Linked DNA regions of Homo sapiens: regions 2, 3 and 4 are each linked to region 1. The links are contacts of gene promoters, found by promoter capture Hi-C in blood cells and fetal thymus (Javierre and others, 2016). All regions are on one chromosome and are shown on one strand. The core of a region is centred on a gene start or on the middle of the fragment in contact, and the rest is flanking DNA. Distances in the headings are between cores, read along the strand shown. Region 1 holds the start of LPAR3 (lysophosphatidic acid receptor 3). Region 2 overlaps TTLL7 (tubulin tyrosine ligase like 7). Region 3 overlaps TTLL7 (tubulin tyrosine ligase like 7). Region 4 overlaps TTLL7 (tubulin tyrosine ligase like 7).

Region 1 (3,417 bases), core at 209-2,708:
GTTTGAGCTGAGCTGTTCTCTCCCTTGACAGAGAGAGCTCTTTCCGACCCCCGCCCCTCCGAGACGGAGTCTTGCTCTGTCGCCCAGGCTGGAGTGCAGTGGCGCGATCTCGGCTCACTGCAACCTCCGCCTCCCAGGTTCAAACGATTCTCCTGCCTCAGCCTCCAGAGTAGCTGGGATTACAGGTGCGTGCCACCACGCCCGGCTTTTTGTATTTTTAGTAGAGACGGGTTTTCACCATGTTTGCCACCGAGCTTTTTTATCATATGCAAAGCTTCTGCTTGTAAAAGTAAACACATGATCTTTCTTTAGCCCTAGCTTCGCAAGTTGTACTTCTCTCTACACAGTTCAACTGCAAGACACCGCAATAATTTTCTGAACACTTAGATGAAACAATAATTTTCACATGCTGATGAAAACTTAGCTGTAGCCCCGGGGAGGTTTGAGGCACATTAGGCTATTATGGTCTATAGGATAAGACCCACGGAGTAAGGGACGTAACCTTATTAAAACATCCTCTGCAGAGAAAACAGAATCTCTTTGATGGTAGGGGACAGATTATCTAACAGGTTGTTTGCAAGGATGAGGTTCCTAGCTGGCACACAGAAGGGCGCAGTATTAATGGTGAATGCAAGATGAATGAATGAACGGATGGATGGATGGCAAAGGGTCACAGGAAGACATCTGGGCACACAACTCTCATTGCTTCCTAAGGGCCTGAAGTCTGAGTGGGAAGGACTTCACCTCACAGTATTTCCTTTTTGTAAGGTCACCAGGAAAGCACAACTTTGAACATTTCTGTGACTTCGTTATTGCTTTGCAGAATTCAGAGAGAACAATGCCTTCATGACATTTGTTTTACTTTGCATCTTTCTTCTTTACTAAAGGTGGGTCAGTGGAGGTTTTATATTTCAGCTTTGAAAAACAAAGTATCCAGGACTATTTGCCCCAGGAGGCCAAGAAACCTCTTACAAGAACCTTAAATATTGTTGGTTGCCTCTGGGGGCTGTCCGCACCCTCGGGTAGCTTTGGGGTTGAGGTTTCCAGCGTTAGGTCGGGCTTGGAGTAGAGCCTGCCTCCCACGGGGGTGGTGGGTGTGGGCTGCACTTCCCGCAGCCACTTCAAACAAATCTCTGAGGACAGAGGGGCAGAGGGACTGCGTTCTAATACGGAGCTCCGAGGTATGGCTCCGTGAGGCTTGTGGGTACTAGCGGTCCTTTAGTGGGCGCTTTTCCCTCTCGGGGCCGGCCGACCACCCACCTGGGGACGATCCCAGGCAGGAACGCGTCTGCAAGAGCGCTGCCCTCCCGCGGCTCGCACGGGCCCCTTTGAGCGCAGCTCGCGGCCTTGCAGGTTGGGGACGCTCTCCAGTGGGAACGTCGAACGCACCCGGCGGGGCGGGGCGGGGCAGGGAGGGGCCGCTGTCCCTAGGTCCCTCCCTCGCACCGCCAAACTTTCCTTTGGCTCTGGACGCGTCGCAGGGGTCGCTGGAGAGGAGGCGCTCCGCCCGCCCGCCGCGTCCTCCGCTGCTTCTCCGCGCCCGGCTGGAGCCCGGCGCCCGGTCGCCCCGTCGCGCTCGACCCCGAGGGCATGCGGCAGCCGCAGGGGCCCCCGCTCCCGGGCTCGGCGGCGCGGGTGAACGTGAGCGGTGAGTGAGGGTCCGGGCGCAGGGAGGGTACCCCGAGCCGCAGTCACCAGGGCGTGCGTCGTGGGGAGGCCGGGGCGCAGCGGCGCCTGCAGGGCTCTAGCCTGCGGCTTTTCGGGGTTGCCTGGCGTGCAAGCCTGGGCTCCAGACCCACTCCAAACCCCGGGACAAGACTCTCCCGGCGGGTGTATGGCACAACTTGCTCTTTTCCCACCTTTTTCCCCGCTAGGAGCAAAAAGCAATCTAGATGCAAAATCGGCGTTGCGTCCGCTGCTGAGGGCTGGCGGGCTGGGCGCAGAGGCCAGGAGAGCGCCGCACGGGTTGCGTCTGCCTTTGCACACGTGGTTCTTTCCAAACTCAGTCTCATTGCCATCGATGGTGATTAGGAAACTGGGGTTCTCTCGTGAAGCCTAGGGATATAACATTTTTCAGCCTCCAGTTACATCTGGTACTGTGCTGTGTCCGCTGGGGAACAGCTTGAACCATGTGCAGGCTTCTAGAGATTCGGGAACTAGTAACTAGCAACACTGTCGGGGTTGTTTGTTCAGGGTATGCCCCCTCACCACCACGAGACAAAAGTGCTTTTGTTCTGTAGCAGAGTTACTTTATTGCTTTCCCTCAACAAGTTGCAGCTACACAAAATTGCTTAGAAATTCCGCACGCATGTAATTTGAGGAGTGACTGTGAATATTGGAAACAATTTAGTCTTATTAAGGTAATCATTAAAATGGCCCTGAAAAGCATTTGTAGGTTAGTTTTTATTTATTTATTTATTTATTTATTTATTTATTTATTTATTTATTTTTGAGACACAGTCTCGCACTATCATCCGGGCTGGAGTGCAGTGGCGCGATCTCGGCTCACTGCAACCTCCGCCTCCCAGGTTCGAGCGATTCTCCTGCCTCAGCCTCCCTAGTAGCTGGGATTGCAGGCGCCCACCACCACGCTAGGCTAATTTTTTGTATTTTTAGTAGAGACGGGGTTCCACTGTGTTGGCCAGGCTGATCTCGAACGCTTGACCTCGTGATCCACCCTCCTCAGCATCCCAAAGTGCTGGGATTACAGGTGTGAGCCACTGCGCCCGGCTAGGTCAGTTTTTTAAACTGAGTAATTTCCACGAAATGTTTCCCCCGTAATTTGTTATTGTCATTACAACGCTTTTCTTCCTCCTTTTCCTCCGAAAGTAGCATTACCTGGTCTTGAGATGCCGTTTAGAAATAAAGGGCTTTCTCACGGTTCCAACTTAGTCTGTATCAGAGAATAAAGTAAATGTCAATTACAGACAGACAATCAATCTCCTCTTTACAAATTCCATGTACCGCACAACGTTTCATTAATGCATGGACTTTTGTATCGCTGAGAAGAGTTGCTGGATTTTCCATTGATCCATCAACAGTTGCTAACCCTGCTTTCCATGGGCAGTGGATCTGATATTTAGTGGCCTGAGTCCAGTAAACAGAGTTTTCCTCTTTTTGGGACAGAAGTGATACGGTTAGAAACACACACCTTGGCTCTGTTAACCCCAGGCTTGTCTAAACAAACTGGACTATACTAAAAAGACGAGCGAGCAAACCCTGCCAGTCAGAGTTGTGTACTTGAGATAAGCTTCCAGAGTTGTCTCTTGTGCCTTGAGACAGCAAGGAACTAGTTATCCTGTGGAGATCTGGACGTCTAACTATTTGGACAACACTTACATTGATTGTCACTATCATATAACTAAGAAAATAGGTCATTTTGGCAAAAATTTTTTCTTTGTCTTTAGAATTTGAAAC
Region 2 (3,215 bases), core at 676-3,175, 940 kb after region 1:
TACTTTTATTCTCTTTCATATGAGAAAAAGCATGATTTCATATAAGAGAAAGCATATATCAAATTTGGTTTGGGAACCAAGTGCTGAAATTTAATGAAATTAATAATACAAAAATGGACAAAATTTCATTCATGACCTGATATTTGGAAATACTACTTTTTGCATATACAACTGCCTTATTTTTATAATTTTTAGGAAGTAATAGATTTCTGACTGTTAATTGTAATGACCTCTCTGCAAATAATGTTAATGTGTGTGGAGAGTGTTTTTGCCTCAAAGTAAAAGCTTACTTGGATATATTTTTTGTTACATTTGTTATTTTTCTCTTTTTTTTGGAAGTGATAGTAGAAATGTCTTTCATCCGATAATTACAATTTAGGGATCTGGAGAAGATTATCTTGAGACATATTTGCAAAATTGTTACTTTAAAATTTTCTTATAACTTGTTTTTCAATATCATTGTTCATTATATCTCTTTTCTTTAAACGATTATCAATGAGGATAATAATCTATCTTTTAGGGTTTTGAAGGTCAGAGTTTTATATGTATAAACCTCAAAAAGTGCCTGGCACATAGGATGTTTTACATAAGTGATGATATCAACCCCATCCTTCTCTTCCTCTTTGTTGTCTTCTTGCTCTTCCTCATTATCATTGTTACAATCCATAGCAAGCTCAGGATAGAGTTTAATTATCTACTCTGTGAAGCCAGGGGCAGACTGGACTCAATGTCTTAGTCTGCTCAGGCTGCTATAATAAAGTATAATAGACTAGGTAGCTTAAACAATAGATATTTATTTCTCACAGTTCTGGAGGCTGGGAAGTCTAAGATAAAAAAGGCTCAAGACAATTAGGTTCCTGGTGAGGGCTATCTTCCTGGCTTTCAGAGGACTGCCTTCTCACTATGTCCTTGGGCTCCAGCTTTTAACGTAGATTCAGTCGAACAAAATCAAGCATCTTTGCGAAATCTTCAATATGTTATATTTAAAGGCTGAATTTTGAAGGTAGCACAAAAAGTGGGAAGGAATATGGGTTTCCTTCCCATACTTCTTCTAATAGGTAGAAGCCACAAACCACTTCAACCTATTAGATGTGTGACTTTGTGCAAGTTTCTTAACCTTGGAGCCTACATTTTCCCATATATAAAATGGGAATAAAAGGTACTGGGTATTTGTTGGGTGGACTAAATAAAGTTATGTGAAAGTAGATACTGGTTTGTACTGGTTCTTTTCTCCTTCCTCTTGTCACAACAAAACAGCTCTTATTATGTTTTTATTTAATATTATTTTACATATTTTTAACTTAACCCTATTTTTGGATCCTCTTGACTTTTTGTTTGATTATTTTAGTAATCTTTGGGTGAGCTAAAAATTAATGTACAAAGACCTCATATATTATGTTTACTGGGGTATGGATTGAGGGTTGCTGGAGAAGGTCTGAGTTTTCTTTGTGTTTCCTTCTTTTACATAAAAGAAGTTTGTCTTCATCTTTTGCCATAAAATATATCAGCAATGTTATCTTCATTGGTTGCCATTTTAGACTTTAGGGGTGGAAAGAATAAATCTTTTACTTTTGCAGCCTAAGAATTTATATCTGCTAAGTGGAAAATTAAAGGATAGGAATTTGATTTGACTCCTTGTTCAGTGCTCTTTCTACCATATTATACTTTCATTTAAATGAAATAAAGGTATTTTCACTTAAATGGAGAACACAGTTTGATGATTTTGGTTATCAACATGATTATATTGATACAAAATTTTATCACATATATTTTACTTTTTTGAACAGGTAATACATATACAGAGTACTAAAGGTAAGTACAAGTAAGTCTCCCTTAGCCCCACCCCTAGCCATAGCAGGCCACAACTGCTCAGTGGATATGTTCCATATATTCCTCTGTTGGTTTGCTCAAGTGGCAGTGTAATATGTAAACTTCTATGTACTTTGCTTTTTCCACTTAAAAATGTGGGTTAGGGCTGGGCACAGTGGCTCACGCCTGCAATCGCAGCACTTTGGGAGGCCGAGGTAGGCGGATCACCTGAGGTCGGGAGTTCGAGACCAGCCTGACCAACATGGAGAAACCTCGTCTCTACTAAAAATACAAAACAATTAGCCAGGTGTGGTGGCGCATGCCTGTAATCCCAGCTACTTGGGAGGCTGAGGCAGGCGAATCACTTGAACCCGGGAGGCGGAGGTTGCAGTGAGCCAAGATTGTGCCATTGCACTCCAGCCTGGGCAGTAAGAGCAAAACTTCGTGTCAAAAAAAAAAAAAAAAAGTGGGCTAGGTGCAGTAGCTCATGCCTGTAATCTCAGCACTTTGGAAGGCTGAGGCGAAAGGATAACTTGAGGCTAGGAGTTTGAGACCAGCCTGGTCAACATAGTGAGACCCCATCTCTAAAATAATAAATAAATAAATACATAAATAAATAAATAAAAATAATAATAAAAGCCTGTTGTGGTGGTGTACACCTGTAGTCCCAGCTACTTGGGAGGTTGAAGCAGGAGGATTGTGGAGCCCAAGAGTTCAAGATTACGGTGAGCTATGATTGTCTCTAAAAAACAATATAAATGAATAAAACAAAATACATAAATAAAATTTTTTTAAAGTGAAAAGTAATATATTGTAAATTACATGTATTTGCTTCTCAGAGCTTGATGACTATTTCTCTTTTCTCTCAGCTCTCATGAATTGATTGGTTGTTTGTTTTTTAAGACACGCTCTGCTGCCAGGCTGTAGTGCAGTGGCATGAACACAGCTCACTGCAGCCTTGACCTCCCTAGCTCAAGCTATCATTCCTTCTTAGCCACCCAGGTATCTGGGACTACAGGCAGGCACCACCATGCCTGGCTAATTTTTAAATTTTTGTGGAGATGTTGCTCAGGCTGGTCTCAAACTCCTGGTCTCAAGTGATCCTCCTGCCTAGGCCTCCCAAAGTATTGGGATTATTTATAGGCATGAGCCATGGTGCCTGGCTAATTAACCGATTTATTAACTCAGTGTCTTAGCCCGTGTGTGCTGCTATAACAAAACGCCACAAATTGGATAACTTATAAACAATAGAAATTTATTTCTCAAATTTCTGAAGGCTGGGAAGTCCACATCAAGGTGGTGGCAGGTTTATTGACGGTGAGGGCTGCTGTTTCTGCTTTTAAGATGGTACTTTGTTGCTGCACCTTCTGAAGGAGATGGATGCTGTGTTCTCATGGTGGAAGGGA
Region 3 (3,482 bases), core at 384-2,883, 1.0 Mb after region 1:
CTCCAGTGAATGCAAGGGAGGAGGACTGGGTAGGAAGAACCTCAGACTTTAGTGGATCTCTGAGAAAGTTGTGGTCAGGCTGATGGGGAGCCCAGAACAAAGACTGGCTGTTGAAGGGATCACAGTGAGCAGAAATAGCTCTTCACTCGTATCCCAGCCATGCTTCATCCTTGGCTGGGAACTATCTTGGGAGAGTGTAAGCATGGTTTGAATATTGCAGTGGATCCCCAGTGGGGAAGCCATCAGCTAACTGCATTCTTTGAAACATGTTAATTTAAGTGGCACATCTCCATGGCTGCCACAAAGGCTGTGCGTGATACATTTTAATTTAACAAACATTTATTGATTGCCAATTTTATACAAATAATATGCTAGACACTGTTAGGGATTTTGAGAGTTGTTTACTCATTCATTTATTTGCTCACTTAATCATGCATTCAACAGATATTTATTGAGGGACTACCATGCCCCAGGCACTATTCAAGGTATGGAAGCACAAGACTCTTATTTAAGTATCTTAATTCCATTTAGAGACCATTATGGAAATATATATACCACTTTTCCTGTTCCAGGATTGAGGCATTTGTGGTTATTAGCCTGTTGTAAAGCTCCAAGATTAGAATGACATACACACAGAGTCTTTCACATGCTTTCCTTTTTTCTGTTCTTGGAAATTAAAAAAAAATTATTTGCCTTCAAATTTTCCTTAATGGATGTAAAATGTAAAGATCAAGGGTATGGGAATTAAATCCTGAAAAGAACCCTCACCAGGTGAAAATGGAAATAGTTAATCTTATTTAATGTCATGTTGTGGTAACTCCATACTTGCATAATTTAGCTTTCTGCCAAGAATGCAGTTGCTTTATATAGTTTGTGAGGAATATATATGAAGTATGAAAATATAGTCATGTTGGTGGGCTGCAAAGAATGCCAGATTTGCTGAAAAGCTTATTATCTGATGTGATACCTAAACATAAACTAAGAGTGGAGGATGAAGAGAAATAACTAATGACATTAAGGTTGTACTGTATTTGCATTTATTTTAGGGTGCTAAGAGGTCCTTGTTTATCAAGTATTACTTCTCTAAATAGCAATTTATTTTTAATACCTACTGTGGCTGCTTCTGCATGCATTTTGATGATACTATTTTCCGTCTCTGTTTTATTCAGGCTGACATAGATGCTGTTCAGAGCTGTTCGTTTTGCATCAGCAAAGATGCCTTTACCCTATAGCCATCGCTGCTGCATGCATCATTAGTACAGCATGTAGTGATTTTAATGTTATTTCTAAACCGCCTTCACCTCGTGCCATTATTTTAATTTAGGACCAACTGTTCGGCCATATGGAGCAGTTTGTCATTCAACATCTGTATGCTTTTGCAAAATATGAATTTGTCTGTGTGCTTTATGCCTTCAAATGTGCTATATTTCACATGGAAAAGACAAATCTTTTCATTTTATTAATGTTGTCATTGACTGAATCTCCCATTTGTTTTTTCCCTTGGAGAGCTTAATGTTGGATTGGGATGCTTTTAAAAGTCATAATGTAAGGAAATGGATACCTATATTCTATAAATTAGCCTCACGTAAGCCCACAGATAACACAAGGGCACCTTGCTGATCATTTATTTTTGTGTTTCACGAATTATTCATCTTCCATCCAATTTCTTCAATCCCCAAAGGACCAGAAATCCAAAAAAGCATCACAGGTAGAACTAGCACTAATTTATCTCATTCCAGTCTGATTTCTTGCCTGCCTGGTCTGTGCTTTCTTAAAATTATTAAGTGAGTATTTGGCTAAAAGTACAGTCATTGTCTCCCCATCTGTATAGCCTTCTAAACAAACTATTCCTTACTCCGTGGCCATAAAGGAGGGGGTGCCTAGGCAACCTTGTTTTTACACAGTGATCCCACTCTCCTCCCAAATACCATTTGACTAGAAATGAATCTGAATCTAAGAAGAGATAATGGGGTTCTCTCTAGGCTTTTGCTGCTGGCATCTGGAAAATCTAAATTGTGAGGCAGTGCTGGATGTAGTTAAGAGCGTAGGTCTGGATACAATGAGCTGGGTAATCTTGGGCAAGTTACTTATCTGCTTTGTGCCTGAGTTTTCTCATCCATAAAATGGGGATCCAAAATGTTTTCACGACCAAAAAAATTTTCATAACCCCTAGGCAGCAAAACCTAACCTACCTGAATTCATTTGGTGACAATGACCTGACAAGAAGTTATGTATTGATTTTGTCTATCTCTTGGTTTGAATATTTACATTTTTTTCCTGCAGAATTAATAATATGTATGATTATGGAATCTAAGCTTGAGATTTTTGGAAAGGGACTGTGGACCAATAGTATCTACCTCATGTTTTTGTTTTGAGGACTAAATGAGTTAATATATGTAAAAGTGCTTAGAACAGTGCTTGGCACATGGTAAGTTCTCTCAATGATTTTTTACCTTGTCTACATAGGTGTGACTTTCTTGCAAGGAATGACTTACTAAGACAGGAACCTACTAAATGATAGACCTTGTCTTAAGCCTTGGGGACCTGGTAACTTTATTATCAAGATGGGCACAGTTTACTCCCTTTATATGCATAACAGTCTCCATTAATTAAACAGGAAATTAAAATAAAATAAGGTGCTTGCTAATAAAGGAAGAACTGGGCATTAAGATATCAAACAATAGTTCAGTGGCAGGTAAAGTTTTCCTTAGAAGTGGCATTTGAAGTGAAACATAGAAGTTTATCAGATGAAGAGATAGGAGAAGACTGTTTCAGGCAGAGGAAGGAGCTTATGTGAAGACTCAGAGGAGAGTTGAAGGATTTGGGTTCCTGTTCCCTCAGTCTGTTGTTCCATGCCCTCCAAATTATAGGGGTGGGTCTCCGAGGACCAAAGCTTGCCTTCTTGCGGAGGCTCCTTGAAAACTGAAAGCAAAGAGAAGCAAAGAGGAATGCGTGTTCCCAGTGGTTTGCTCTGGACAGGAAGGAGAATGTGCCTAGTTTGCCCAGACCATGTCAGTCTCACCAATCTGGGAAATTGCTTCTTAGGTAGAGGTGCCTGATGGGGTGCCATGATGCCTGCAGATTTTTCCATCTCCATATTGAAGAAAACATTAGGAATGGAGCAGAAGCATTCCCCATCCCTAACTCCCCGGCTCCATTCTGAAGGTGCTGCTTTTAGTCATGTATGGGCTAGAATATGGTACTGTCATGCTATTAAAATTCCCTCTAAATTAAGAAAATATATGCAGAGTAGTGGTCAAAAGAATCTCCTCTAAGTAATGTGCCTAGCACAGTGTTTTGCATAGAGCAGGCGGATGATACATGTTAGTTGCCCTTGAAGTGTATTTAAAAAGAAATGAATGAATACTCCATGGTCTCAAATCCTTTATCATTTTAAAGTTGAATAATCATTTTATAATATAATGTGAAAACTGATGAACTTAAGGTAACGTTAAAATTGCCAGTATCAATAACATTTTTCA
Region 4 (3,428 bases), core at 153-2,652, 970 kb after region 1:
AGGATAAAGGAATGTGTGAGGGCGTTCTTGCACTCATGGTAAGATGTTCTTTCATGGCCTTAACACCATCAACAGTAGTGATAAGAACACATTCCTCCCACTCTACCTCTACCCACTTCTCTCTACTAGAGAGGCAAATTCCACCACTACAAAAGAGATCATCAGAACCACTGCTTACATTTTTGTATACTTCAGTAACCACACTAAGTAAAAACACTCCTGCAGTATCCCTTATTACCTGAACACTCTCCTATAAAGTTCAGTATTTCTCCAATTTGCCCAATCACCATTCTTCCCCAACCATTTCCCCCCAACTAAACCCTTATACTGTACCTTCTGGAACTGCATTGTTTAATGCTAATTCTCTAGATAAACTTTGTTTGTGGATTTGTGCCACTATTAATGAATAGACTGAAAACCTTCATAAAGTTCTAAAAATACTCTTGTGCAATCATTAAAGTTTTGAAAGAATTTTATTAATTAGTGCCCAGTCAGCAAATACTCACATTAGAAAGTTACTAAGTGAATCTATTAGGCCAGTTATCAGTTTTCTGTCTGGAGGTTTAATATTTAATATCATTTTGCACTAATCAGTATAGAAATGCTTATACCTGGCAATGTGACTGGTATAGAATAGATGGTCAAGGATTGTCTATGGAGTTGATGTTAACTATTGAGCTACGACAGCTTCTTTTTAAAAAATTGGTTTATCTGATTTTGTTGTAGACGAATTTATCCTCCTGAAGATAAAGCATTACTTGAAAAGTATGAAAATTTGTTAGCTGTTGCCTTTCAGACCTTCCTTTCAGGAAGAGCAGCTTCATTCCAGCGAGAGTTGAATAATCCTTTGAAAAGGATGAAGGTAAGAGAATGAATGTTTATATAGAGAAAAAAGAATAAAGCTAAACAATATGTCTTTACAGACAAGCCACCTTGGTCCGACATATAAAAACATTTTACTTTTAAGATATGCTTTCCCCAAGCTTTCTATTTTAACAGTTGGTAACATTTCATGATGAACCAACTTACTTCATAAGATATCTACCAAGAAAAATTATGGAGTAGAGAATTGTGATATTATGTTGTAATATCAATATATTATAATAACGTATCTTCTTACATAGATGTGTATATGTAACTGGATAAAGAAACCCATGGAATTAACCTAGTGGTTTGTAGCGTTTTTATTTTTTGGATTATAACAAACATTACATAATACTTTTTCTTGATGCTATGTAGATCTAGCATATGAGAGGAAGTAAATGAAACACACACACACACACACACACACACACACACACTCTAATCTGTACACCATAGTAAAAGGTCTAGCAGTTTTCTATTATAGCATAACAAACCACTTCATTTATTTGCTCATTACTCTGCAATCGTGGCTGGGCACAGCTGAGTGGTTCTTCCGCTTGTCTTTCCTGGGGTGAATCATATAGTAGCATGTATCTGAATGCCCAACTGGGGCTAGAAATCCAGGGTAGCTTCACTCACATGTCTGGTGTGTCAGATAAGATAGCTGAAACATCTGGGAGCTGGCTGGTATCTCTTTCTCCCTACACAGTCTCTCAGCAGGGTAGTCAGACCTCTCAATATAGTAGCTCAGGATTCTAAAAGGGAGCATTTCAAGAAGATTCTTTTTATCCTAGTAGGAGCTCTCTATTTTAGACTTGATCTCTGCCTACATATGTCCAGACATGACAGATGACCCCAAAGAAGAAAATGGCCACTCATCTCTGCTCACCTAGGAAGAACTTGTTCCTCTTTGGAATTTAGTTTCTTTACATTACTTTTTACCTAAAGTAAAGCTTTCTGATGTTTTAGAAAATATGATTGTTTAGTTTATCTGGCCTTTTCTGGCTGTTATGATGAAAGTATTATCTGTTATATTTCTCCTAAACAGAAGCAGAACTCCTTGAGTTTCTTTTTGGCTATATTGTACTGCTATCCATGGAATTCATTGTAAGATTATTATTTAATAAAAAATGTATAATAAGAGTATTTTGGGATTTCAATAGCTAAATTTCCTTAGATTGGGACAAAGAGTAACTTACTTTACACATTTCTACTGCACAGTGAGATTTCTAGTTTCTTCAAAAACCTTTTCTAGAATCCTTTCTTAAATAACTAAATGATACAGTTGATTATACCTCTTTCAGTGTAGCTATTATACTCGTATTGTCCTGGCTTGCCTAATATCCACTGGGGTATATGCTTTTACAAAATTTCCTTTTGATTCAGAATATGACTCTAGTAGAACGCAGGAAAGGTGTTAGGGCACTTGTGGCTTTTTGCTACCTTTGATGACTATAGAATGAAAACCTTTATAAAGTTCTAAAAATACTTTGTGCAATCATTAAAATTTTGAAAGAGTTTCATTAAATAGTGCCCAGTCAGCAAATACTCACATTAGAATGTTTCTAAGTGAAACTGTTAGTCCAATTATCAGTTTTCTGTCTGGAGGTTTAATATCATTTTGCACTAATCTGTATAGAAATGATTCATAAACTTGAAATCTGGAAAACAGCATGAACTTTCCAGAAATTTTAGTGTCCAATGGGCTAATTTATTGAAGTATTATACTCTAAGATTTTAATACTATACTGTACTATAAAGATACATTTGTTTAGGATAATTAATACAGAATAGATTTTGGCTATGTATTAATTATAATGCCAGATTTTAGTGAAAGTTTCAAGAGAATTTGCTGTGACCCTTTAATATTTCTCCTTTTTTCTGAGCAATCTTCACTAAATAATTTCAGGAATCCTTGCTCTGCATTATTTTGTGGAGATTAATCAACTTGGAAAAATTCTAGAGTCCATTAGTGGTTGTAATTTTAATTAGAATATTTTTTGAAGGAAGAAGATATTTTGGATCTTCTGGAGCAATGTGAAATTGATGATGAAAAGTTGATGGGAAAAACTACCAAGACTCGAGGACCAAAGGTGCAGTATATCTCTACCTTCCTTACTTATCAAAGTAGATGCTACTAGCCCTTGATACTTCTCACTATAAGAAAGACTGGTGCTGCTTTAAAAAAGGAACCACAGGGACTGTGTGCCCAGTGCAGGTAAAGTTTGGAAGATGATGATACCTTACACTCAGGAGTTTGTTTTGTTTTATTAGTTTCATTCGTCATTTTGGTTATTTTCCTGATGACAGTGAAAAGACCATGAGTCAGGGCCAAAAGGGACCCAAGAGCTAGTACTCTTATTCTAAACTAAGTATTAAGTTTGCCTCATACCTCTAGACAGATAATTATCAAATAAATGGGTAACATTATAAATAAGGCAAATCATGAACTCTAGAGACCCTAATTAGAAGCCCTGTCTTTTGCTGACCTAACAACATTGATTTTGTTTTAGTTAAAATAGGTGTAATTCCTAGAAATAAGTAGAAAGCTGTCATGTAGATGA

Evidence for each region. Contacts are between HindIII fragments. The CHiCAGO score rates a contact against its expected background, and 5 or more counts as called.
Region 2: a contact is called between a fragment that was not itself captured here and the fragment with the promoter of LPAR3 in region 1, in 1 of 17 cell types (non-activated CD4 T cells). The highest score is 6.7, in non-activated CD4 T cells.
Region 3: a fragment that was not itself captured here is called in contact with the fragment with the promoter of LPAR3 in region 1 in 3 of 17 cell types (naive B cells, total CD4 T cells and monocytes); the score reaches 6.6 in naive B cells.
Region 4: a fragment that was not itself captured here is called in contact with the fragment with the promoter of LPAR3 in region 1 in 5 of 17 cell types (M0 macrophages, erythroblasts, naive CD4 T cells and 2 more); the score reaches 6.8 in M0 macrophages.

What each region holds. Positions count from the first base shown.
Region 1 is chr1:84,891,247-84,894,663 of GRCh38, reverse strand. LPAR3 (lysophosphatidic acid receptor 3) reads left to right here and starts at 1,458. Exons shown (of 3, transcript NM_012152.3): 1 at 1,458-1,648. The HindIII fragment of the contact is 2,976 bases long and covers 277-3,252 here.
Region 2 is chr1:83,955,488-83,958,702 of GRCh38, reverse strand. All of the region lies in intron 1 of TTLL7 (tubulin tyrosine ligase like 7), which reads left to right. Among named protein-coding and RNA genes, the nearest start is that of TTLL7-IT1, 27 kb to the left of the region's middle. The HindIII fragment of the contact is 3,276 bases long and covers 288-3,215 here.
Region 3 is chr1:83,894,302-83,897,783 of GRCh38, reverse strand. All of the region lies in intron 18 of TTLL7 (tubulin tyrosine ligase like 7), which reads left to right. Among named protein-coding and RNA genes, the nearest start is that of LINC01725, 35 kb to the right of the region's middle. The HindIII fragment of the contact is 1,368 bases long and covers 950-2,317 here.
Region 4 is chr1:83,917,133-83,920,560 of GRCh38, reverse strand. It overlaps TTLL7 (tubulin tyrosine ligase like 7), which reads left to right. Exons shown (of 21, transcript NM_024686.6): 13 at 727-862; 14 at 2,871-2,957. Among named protein-coding and RNA genes, the nearest start is that of LINC01725, 58 kb to the right of the region's middle. The HindIII fragment of the contact is 834 bases long and covers 986-1,819 here.